Linked DNA regions of Homo sapiens: regions 1 and 2 are each linked to region 3. The links are contacts of gene promoters, found by promoter capture Hi-C in blood cells and fetal thymus (Javierre and others, 2016). All regions are on one chromosome and are shown on one strand. The core of a region is centred on a gene start or on the middle of the fragment in contact, and the rest is flanking DNA. Distances in the headings are between cores, read along the strand shown. Region 1 overlaps FAM167A-AS1 (FAM167A antisense RNA 1). Region 2 overlaps FAM167A-AS1 (FAM167A antisense RNA 1). Region 3 holds the start of DEFB134 (defensin beta 134).

Region 1 (2,754 bases), core at 22-2,521, 600 kb before region 3:
TTCTTAAGTAATCAAAGACCTGATAGAAAACAACGTGAAGCACAAGAAATCATTTTTGTAAAAAAATCTTTGTGTCCTAGTACAGTAACTTAAACGATAAAGAAAAATCTTCACATTCTCAGACTGATACAGTAAGAAAACTTGGCCATTTTGACAAAGAGGACGAAATTCTAGTTTTGCATCATCGTATTAGTAATATGGAAGCTAATTGTAAGAAAACCTTATAAATAAAATTAAGCTCATTTTAGCCAGCTTTGACCACATAACATTTTCCCCCAAAGATTCTTTTTCCACAACCCTTTTAAAATATTTTTAAAAATTGATCTTTATTTATCTTCCTGCATTTTTCTTTTTCTTATTCTGGAACAACTGCTCATCATAGTTTCGTACAGAATTAACTACTCCTTTTTCCATTAACAGAAAATACAGTTTCATGCCTTACAATTTTCCTTACCAAAAATACATCTTGCTTTCCTCGTGTATTTTGCATACAGGATTGTTTCCCTTATTATTTCTAGTAGTTTTAATTACATATATTAATTAGAATTTTAATCTTCAGCAATTGTAGTTTATCACATTCCATAGATTAAAGCCATAATTTCTAAAAATCATGTGCTTCTCCATAGTACAATTTTTCATGTCTATTAACAGATCCAAATTTTGTCTTCTCTATACCATATAAAAAACAAAATGCCAATGTATATAAACTTAAATTTATGCTTAGTAATTAATGTTTCAATGTTTTAAGTGACTTAGAAATGACTCAGATATGGCCAGGCACGGTGGCTCACACCTGTTATCCCAGCACTTTGGGAGGCCCAGGCGGGTGGATCATGAGGTCAGGAGTTTGAGACCACCCTGACCAACATGGTGAAACCCCGTGTCTACTAAAAGTACAAAAATTAGCTGGGTGTGGTAGCGCACACCTATAATCTCAGCTACTCAGGAGGCTGAGGCAGGAGAATCACTTGAACCCAGAAGGCAGAGGTTGTAGTGAGCCGAGATCGCATTATTGCACTCCAGCTTGGGCAACAGTGAGACTCAGTCTCGGGGGGAAAAAAAAAGAAAAAGAAATGACTCAGATATGTAATGAGTATTTATTACTTAATTTAATTTAGCATAGCTTTAAGGTTGCAAGTTACCAAAAAAGTTTTCTGAAACTATTTTTAAGTAGACCTGTTTTATAAAACATAATTATTATTGAAAAGTTCATGTATATACTTTTAGGTCACTTGTACATTATTTAATTCACGTGTTTTTAACAATTATTCTTGGATGTCTCATGGGCATTTTTTATAAGAACTTAAAGCCATCATCTTATTTCATTTTTGTTTACAAATCAGGTATCAAAAATATCACAGAGGCAAAGAACTAAAAAGCTAAACAATTCATTCTCTATCTATCTATCTATCTATCTATCTATCTATCTATCTATCTATCTATCTATGTTTTTACTTTCATGAATGATATGTGTCAAGCAATTTATTTTTACTGTGTGTTCTGCTCTTAGGTTGGGTTTTTAGTTTTATGTTTTTAAACGTCAAGCAGGGAAAACACAAACCTGTGTGGCCAGCAAACTCAGGGAAAAATGTGTATCTGAATTATATTTCACACTTACAATTCTGAAGATACCCCTACTTTTATTTTACCAATAATTTAAAAGCTAGCTTTATTTACCAAAGACTTAGCCAAGTCATGTGATTTTTTAAAAAAAAAATTTGGATGAGAGTCTATGTCTGAGAGTTTTAGGAATGCCTAATTTATCTGAGCACTCGTTTATCTCTAAGCCAATTTGAATAGAGCTCCTTTAAGGGTTTTATAAATTAATTTAGTAACACTATCCGGAGGTGGAAAAATATTAAATATACATAATATACAAATATACATACATAAACTTACAGACAAATACAGCTTTCATTCTAACATTTAGTCACAAGTCAGTAAAACATAGTAGTACAAACTCATTGATTTATTTCCAATTTATATTTTTGTCCGAATTGTGTTTCTGACAAAGATGGGAGAAGTTAAGTTTACCTGCTTACATGGCAAGAGCTTTTTTACCAACGTTTGTGGAAAAGACTTGAGATTTTTATTTGCCCAATTCCCAAATAGTTCCTTTAAAAAACATGACAGTCATTTCCCTGAAGTTTGTATTTCCAAATGATAGTTCTCAGGTTTTAGAGAAGACAGGATAGGGAATCATCTCAAAGGCACAGAAAAATAATGCAAGGGTTTTTTTTTTTTCTTCCAAAAAAGGAATTTGGGAGCGTATTTGCCTATTTTCAGAGGTTTTTCTTATAGAGGCTGTGGACTAAATTTTAGGCTAGTGACTGAGGAGATATTTAGCAGTTGTCTAAATGTTTCCAAAGTCCAAATGAGTGGACGAAACATCCATTTCTTGTTTCCCAGTAACCATTTCTCCTCTTTTCAGCCTCAGGTTTTTTTTTTTTTTTTTTTTTTTTTGGAGACGGAGTCTCGCTCTGTCGCCCAGGATGGAGTGCAGTGGTGCCATCTCAGCTCACTGCAAGCTCCGCCTCCCGAGTTCATGCCATTCTCCTGTCTCAGCCTCCCGAGTAGCTGGGACTACAGGAGGGTGTCACCGCGCCTGGCTAATTTTTTGTATTTTTAGTAGAGACGAGGTTTCACTGTGGTCTCGATCTCCTGACCTTGTGATCCGCCCGCCTTGGCCTCCCAAAGTGCTGGGATTACAGGCGTGAGCCACCTCGCCCGGCCAGCCTCAGGTTTTTTAGTCGA
Region 2 (3,021 bases), core at 32-2,531, 580 kb before region 3:
TCACGTCAAGCATGTATCCTCAAAGAAATGATAAATGTTCCAACGCATCTGAGGTTTCTCTTCCTTAATCAATTTCCTTTGGAGACCGCCTAGCTGTCTCCCTTGCTGTTTGCTTTGAGCCTGTGAACGGGGTACTTAAAAACAGCCCTGTCTGAAACCTTCAATCTGCTGAGCAGCTCCCATCAGATAGGGTCTGGTTACCACAGGCCTGTCTGCTCTGGTCACTGCCAACTTCCTCCTCTTCTGCCTGCCTCCTTCCCCAAGTCGTCTAGGCCACAGACTTCAGGCTTAGACATGGAGAAGGAGCCAGTGGGAAGTGCTTCTGGTCTTGTTGAGAAGTCAAAAGGGTGTGTGTAAACGGAGTTTACACCCTTTCCAAACATAAGAGAGACGAGATCTCTGGGAGGCCAAGGAAGCCACAGTTTGACGTCACCAGCCATGGGTCAGGGCACCTGGCCACGCTCAGCAGGGCACCAGCAGCTAATGTGGCAGCAGGCCGAGTCTCTGAATGAAGAAGCCACACCACATCTGAACTGTCGCTCCCCCTCTCCCCATACTCTGGTCTCCACCTGTTCAGTCTTGATCTCTCCTGGACTCACCCTAGCAACCCCCAGGTCACGTGGAGACCACTGGCCATGCACCTACCTCCAGCTCCGTTGGCTCTCCCGGCCCGTTTCCTCTCGTCGTCCTTCCCTCCTGACTCAGTCTAACACTAACATTGCTCCTTTGCAAAAAACATTCACTTTTGCTGTTTCCGTTCTCTGTCACCTGCTTGGCAAATCCTATCTCCCACTGTCTGCCTGGTCTTTGTCTGTATTGGAACTTCTAAATATTGCTGAAAAAATCAATCACTCCACCAGGCTTGCTGGACACACCCCACATTTATGACCACAGCCTCAAATGGGCAATCCCGCCACCAGACCAGACGGTCCATCTTCGCTTTCCTAATTAACTCACCCGTTCTCAGGTAATTATTTGAAAAATGTCTTTGCAAACCTCCAATATCCCACCTCCTCCGACTCACTTCCCTATTTCACAGACAAATAGGAGCGACCTCACGGGCTCCCTTCCTCTGTGCCACTGATTTGTTATTGAAAAGGGGTCCTGATCCAGACCCCAAGGGAGGGTTCTTGGATCTCGCACAAGAGAGAATTTGGGGTGAATCCACAGAGTAAAGTGAAAGCACATTTATGAAGAAAGAAAGAAAAGAATGGCTGCTCCACAGGCGGGGGCTGCTTGAATGGGCATATTTCTAGTTATTTCTTGATCATATGCTAAACAAGGGATAGATTATTCATGGATTTTCTGGGAAAGGGGTGGGGAAATCCTGGAATGGAACAGAGGGTTCCTGCCCTTTTTAGACCATGTAGGGTAACTTCTGGCCTTTGCCTGTGGCATTTGTAAACTGTCACGGGGCTGGTAGGCGTGTCTTTTAGCAGCTAATGCATTATAATTAGCAAATAATAAGCAGTGAGGTCGACCAGAGGTCACTTTCATTGCCTTCTTGGTTTTGGTGGGTCTTGGCTGGCTTCTTCACCACATCCTGTTTTATCTACGGGGGCTTTGTGACCTGTGTCTTGTGCCGACCTCCGATCTCATCCTGTGGCTAAGAATGCCTAACTTCCTGGGGATGCAGCCCAGCAGGTCTCAGCCTCATTTCCCCCAGCCTGTTTGAGCCGCAGTCGCCCTGGTTCCAATGTCCCTGACAGTAACGGGCACCCCTTTAGCTGCACCCTGCCTTCTTGCCTCAAGGAGGAAGTGCCTGGTCCTGTTCTCTGAGCCGGGTCTCCACTCGCACTCTGCCGGGGGTTCTCTCCCCTCCTCCAGAGCTGCAAGTGCTGTGGCTGCCCTCTTTCCTGTGCACATCGTCTCTCTTTCAGCAGGCACTGACCTATCTCACATGACAACACCTTCATTATATTATACGACGTTATGAGAAAACCACAAGCCACTTTCTGGACCTTATCTATGTCCTTGTCCAGCTCCTTGTCTCTGCTCCCTTTATGGCACATGGATGCAGCAAGGTGGCCTTTATCTCCTGCCTCCTCCTCAACCCTGGCCTTACCACTGAGCTGAGATGGCCATCTCCCCCATCACTGCCATCACGGTGGAGGAGGGGCTCCCTCTTGCTGAAGCCAGCATCCACCTCTCTGTCCTCTTCTTCCTTGATGTCTTAGCAGCGCTGGTGTAGACGACTCTCTCCTTCAAACAGTTTCTTCCTGAAGGCTGCCGGATGCCCTGTCCAGCTGCTTTTCCTTCTACCTTACTAGCTGGATTTTTTGTTTTGCTTTGTTTTTAGTTTTCTTTTTGTTTGTTTTTTGAGACAAGGTCTCCTTCTGTTGTCCAGGCTGGAAGTGCGGTGGAGCAATCTCAGCTCACTGCAGCCTTAACCTCCTGGGCTCAGGTGATCCTGCCACCTTAGCCTCCCGAGTAGCTTGGTCTACAGCTACCTTTTTTTCCTAAGTACCCTTTGACCATGCCTCTTTCTCTGTCAGATATTTAAATGTCAGGGTACCCAGACTGCATGTTCACTCTTCCACATAGACTCGAAAGCAAGCTAACTCACAGAGGCAGAGAGCAGAATAGGGGACTTGAGGCTGGGAGCAGGGCGTGGGGATGTGCTGGTCCAAGGGTTCAGGGTTTCAGTTAGGCAGGAGGAATAAATAATGAGCATTTGAGGTGATGGATATGTTAGTTAGCTTGTTTCAATCATTCCACATTGTACATATAGCAACATTTTGTACATCATAAATATATACAATTAGAATTTGTCAATATCCAGTGAAAGTAAATAAATGAATAAACATACACTGGAGTCCCGAGGCTGCCGTGCGCAGCCCTCTTCTCTCCTACACTCCTTTCCTGAGTTTACCCAGGTAGAGGTTTTTTTTTTTCTTTTTCTTTTTTTTTTTTTTTTTGACTGTCTCGCTCTGTTGCCCAGGCTGGAGTGCAGTGGTGCGATCTCAGCTCACTGCAACCTCCGCCTCCCAGGTTCAAGTGATTTTCTTGCCTCAGCCACCC
Region 3 (2,975 bases), core at 300-2,799:
GGGCGTGGGTTCATGAAAAGCAGGTATGGGAGTATAAAGGTCATAAACAGTATAAAGAATTACTGGCTGAGGCTCCCAAAGAAGCCAGCAATCACTCTGAGAAAAAAAGACCTGGAAACCTCAACCTCAGAGAGGACATGCTCAGTGGGATACTGGCATTGCCCATGCAAAGAAAGTGTTGAATATGACTCAAGGAGAAATAATAAAGCAATATACTTTTATCTATGTTGATAAACAGCTGGAAGAGGCTTTAACCCAAGCAAAAATAATGTTGCTTACAAAGCCAAAGTTAAAAAACCCCAAGACCATTACAGTGCCAAATTCTTTTCCCCAGAACGGACTATTACTATCATTCTCCCACTATTGATAAGGAGCTCGTTCACTGACTAGGTCACCAACTACCAGCAATTCGTGATTTTACTTAAATATCAGAACAGGACAGCCTCTGAGTTTTGCTCTAAAAGGTAAAGAAGAATTTCAGCAACTGTCAGAGATCGTCTCTTGTTATCTAGACCTCCCCTGGCTCAGCGTCTGGTTCACTGTAGGTGCCACGAGTTGGGAGCTGACCTAGTTCATAGACTTTAGAGATAAAGAGGGGAGATGTGCGCATCATTTGAAAACAAGTATGTGGCTTACCAGCACACCAGCTTTTTCTTTTCATCCATATATTCCCCTAAGGCCACATGGTGCTCTGGGATTAGAAAATGGAGAAGTACAATATGCTCCACGCTAGGACTAGATGGCTCTTTCTTCTGCCTCCTGGGTTTGGTATTTCTTTAGGGTCATCATGCTACTCTTCTCATCTTCCTGATCTGTGGTTGTTCTGCAACTGCCATACTCTCAGCTGCAATTGAAATGTCCCTGTCTGACCCTGAGCCATACAGATTCAATATGCAGCCTTTCCAAATGACAATCCTAATAAACAGAAATGTATTCTAGCCAACAGTGGGAGATGCAGAAGGAAGCAGCTTCTGTATCCTCTGTGAAGAGATGGTCCTCTTTCCCATTACAAATTTTACAGCACCCATTCCTTTTTTTTTCATAGCACTTGTCACAATTGTTACTATATCAATTATTTGTGTCTCTGATTAGACTGTGAAATCCGAGTAGATTCCATGACTGTCTTATTTATCATTTTACACCAGTATTGGGCTGAAAGTCTAGCAGGCCATCAGTGCCAAAGGTATATTTGTTGAATAAATAAATGAACTCTAGATATTAGGTTTATACTTTAACTTTACAATATATAGTAGTTATTCCTTATTCATGGGGCTATGTTCCAAGACCCCCAGTAGATGCTTGAAACAGTCGATAATACTGAACTCTATATATACAGTGCTTTTTTTCTATACATGCAGACCTATGATAAAGTTAAATTTATAAATTTGGCACAGTAAGATTTTAATAACAATAACTAATAATAAAACAATTATAACAATATGCTATCATAACAATACTATAAAAGTTATGTGAATGTGAACTCTGTCTCCCCCAAAATATCTTACTGTGCTATGCTCACTCTTCTTCTTGTGCTGATGTAAGATGATATAATGCCTATGTGATGAGAGGAAGTGAGGAAAACGACATAGGCATTGTGACATAGCATTAGGCTATTGCTAATCTTCTGACCATAGCTCAGAAGGGGGATCATCTCCTTCGGGTGATGCTGGGTCACTGAGCCATGGTGATGTTAGTGGCTGGATCTCAGAAGCATATGATTTCAATAACTAATGGGCAGGTAGTGTTTACAGTGTGGATACACTGGACAAAGGGATGATTCACATTCTGGGTGTGTGGAGCTGCGTAGTGCAAGATTTTGTGTTACTCAGAACAGCATGCAATTTAAAACTTATGAATTGTTTATTTATGGAATTTTGTGTTTATTTATTTATTTATTTTGAGATGGAGGCTTGCTCTGTCACCCAGGCTGGAGTGCAGTGGCGTGATCTTGGCTCACTGCAACCTCTGCCTCCCAGGTTCAAGTGATTCTCCTGCCTCAGCCTCCTGAGTAGCTGAGATTACAGGCACCTGCCACCACACCTGGCTGATTTTAGTATTTTTAGTAGAGACGGGGTTTCACCATGTTGGCCAGGCTGGTCTCGAACCCCTGCCCTCAGGTGATCCACCCACCTTGGTCTCCCAAAGCGCTGGGATTACAGGCATGAGCCACTGCACCCAGCGTATTTAATATTTTGGACTGTGGTTGACTGTAAGTAACTAGAACTGTGGCTGGGTGGGGAACTACTGCAGATATATTCCTAACAGCTGGTATTTGGAGCACTTTTAGGCATCAAGGATTGTAGTATGTATTTTTTTTAATATTGCCTCACTTAATCTTACAAATGATCTCTTAACTAGACATTTTCACAATTCACATTTTCAAGATGTTGAAGCAGAGATTTGAGTAATTCTTCTAAAATCACACATCTGGGACTGATAAGTCTTACAGAGATTCTAGAACCCAAATTAATTAACCACTCTTCTATATTGTCTCCTGGGACAAAGGGGTTCTGAAATATAGCAAAAATTCTACTTTGAATCTAGTCTGGGCCAGCCAGGAAGAATTAGTAGATGCCAGGGCCTGGGGAGCTAGAACCTATGGTAAGGAAGTGACACTGAAAAAGCTAAAGAATCTTTCTTTCTTTCTCTCTCTCTTTCTTTTTCTTTCTTTCTTTCTCTCTCTCTTTCTTTTTCTTTCTCTTTCTTTCTTTCTTTCTTTCTTTCTTTCTTTCTTTCTTTCTTTCTTTCTTTCTTTCTTTCTCTCTCTCTCTCTCTTTCTTTTCTTTCTTTCTTTTCTTTCACAGACGTCTTGGGACGCAAAGGGCCAAGGCATCAGAAACACTTGGTACCAGCTTCCACAGCAACAATGAGAGGTAACCCCAGTGCTTCCACTACCAACAGGACATTACCACTTGCAGGCAGAGAAACAGACAAGAAAAATAGTGGATGCCACATATTAGGACTCGTCTGAGACA

Evidence for each region. Contacts are between HindIII fragments. The CHiCAGO score rates a contact against its expected background, and 5 or more counts as called.
Region 1: a fragment that was not itself captured here is called in contact with the fragment with the promoter of DEFB134 in region 3 in 7 of 17 cell types (M2 macrophages, total B cells, naive B cells and 4 more); the score reaches 9.3 in M2 macrophages.
Region 2: a fragment that was not itself captured here is called in contact with the fragment with the promoter of DEFB134 in region 3 in 1 of 17 cell types (monocytes); the score reaches 5.9 in monocytes.

The regions. Positions count from the first base shown.
Region 1 is chr8:11,396,353-11,399,106 of GRCh38, forward strand. All of the region lies in intron 2 of FAM167A-AS1 (FAM167A antisense RNA 1), which reads left to right. Among named protein-coding and RNA genes, the nearest start is that of FAM167A-AS1, 29 kb to the left of the region's middle. The HindIII fragment of the contact is 5,030 bases long and covers 1-2,754 here.
Region 2 is chr8:11,416,512-11,419,532 of GRCh38, forward strand. The region is part of intron 3 of FAM167A-AS1 (FAM167A antisense RNA 1); the gene reads left to right. Among named protein-coding and RNA genes, the nearest start is that of FAM167A, 49 kb to the right of the region's middle. RefSeq lists enhancers at 1-480, 328-557, 481-980, 1,589-1,658. The HindIII fragment of the contact is 5,187 bases long and covers 1-3,021 here.
Region 3 is chr8:11,999,203-12,002,177 of GRCh38, forward strand. It overlaps DEFB134 (defensin beta 134), which reads right to left and starts at 1,550. Exons shown (of 3, transcript NM_001302695.2): 1 at 1,506-1,550. LOC105379245 (a long non-coding RNA gene) reads left to right here and starts at 2,931. Exons shown (of 3, transcript XR_001745644.2): 1 at 2,931-2,975. It also overlaps the pseudogene OR7E160P and the pseudogene LOC100421446. The HindIII fragment of the contact is 7,293 bases long and covers 1-2,975 here.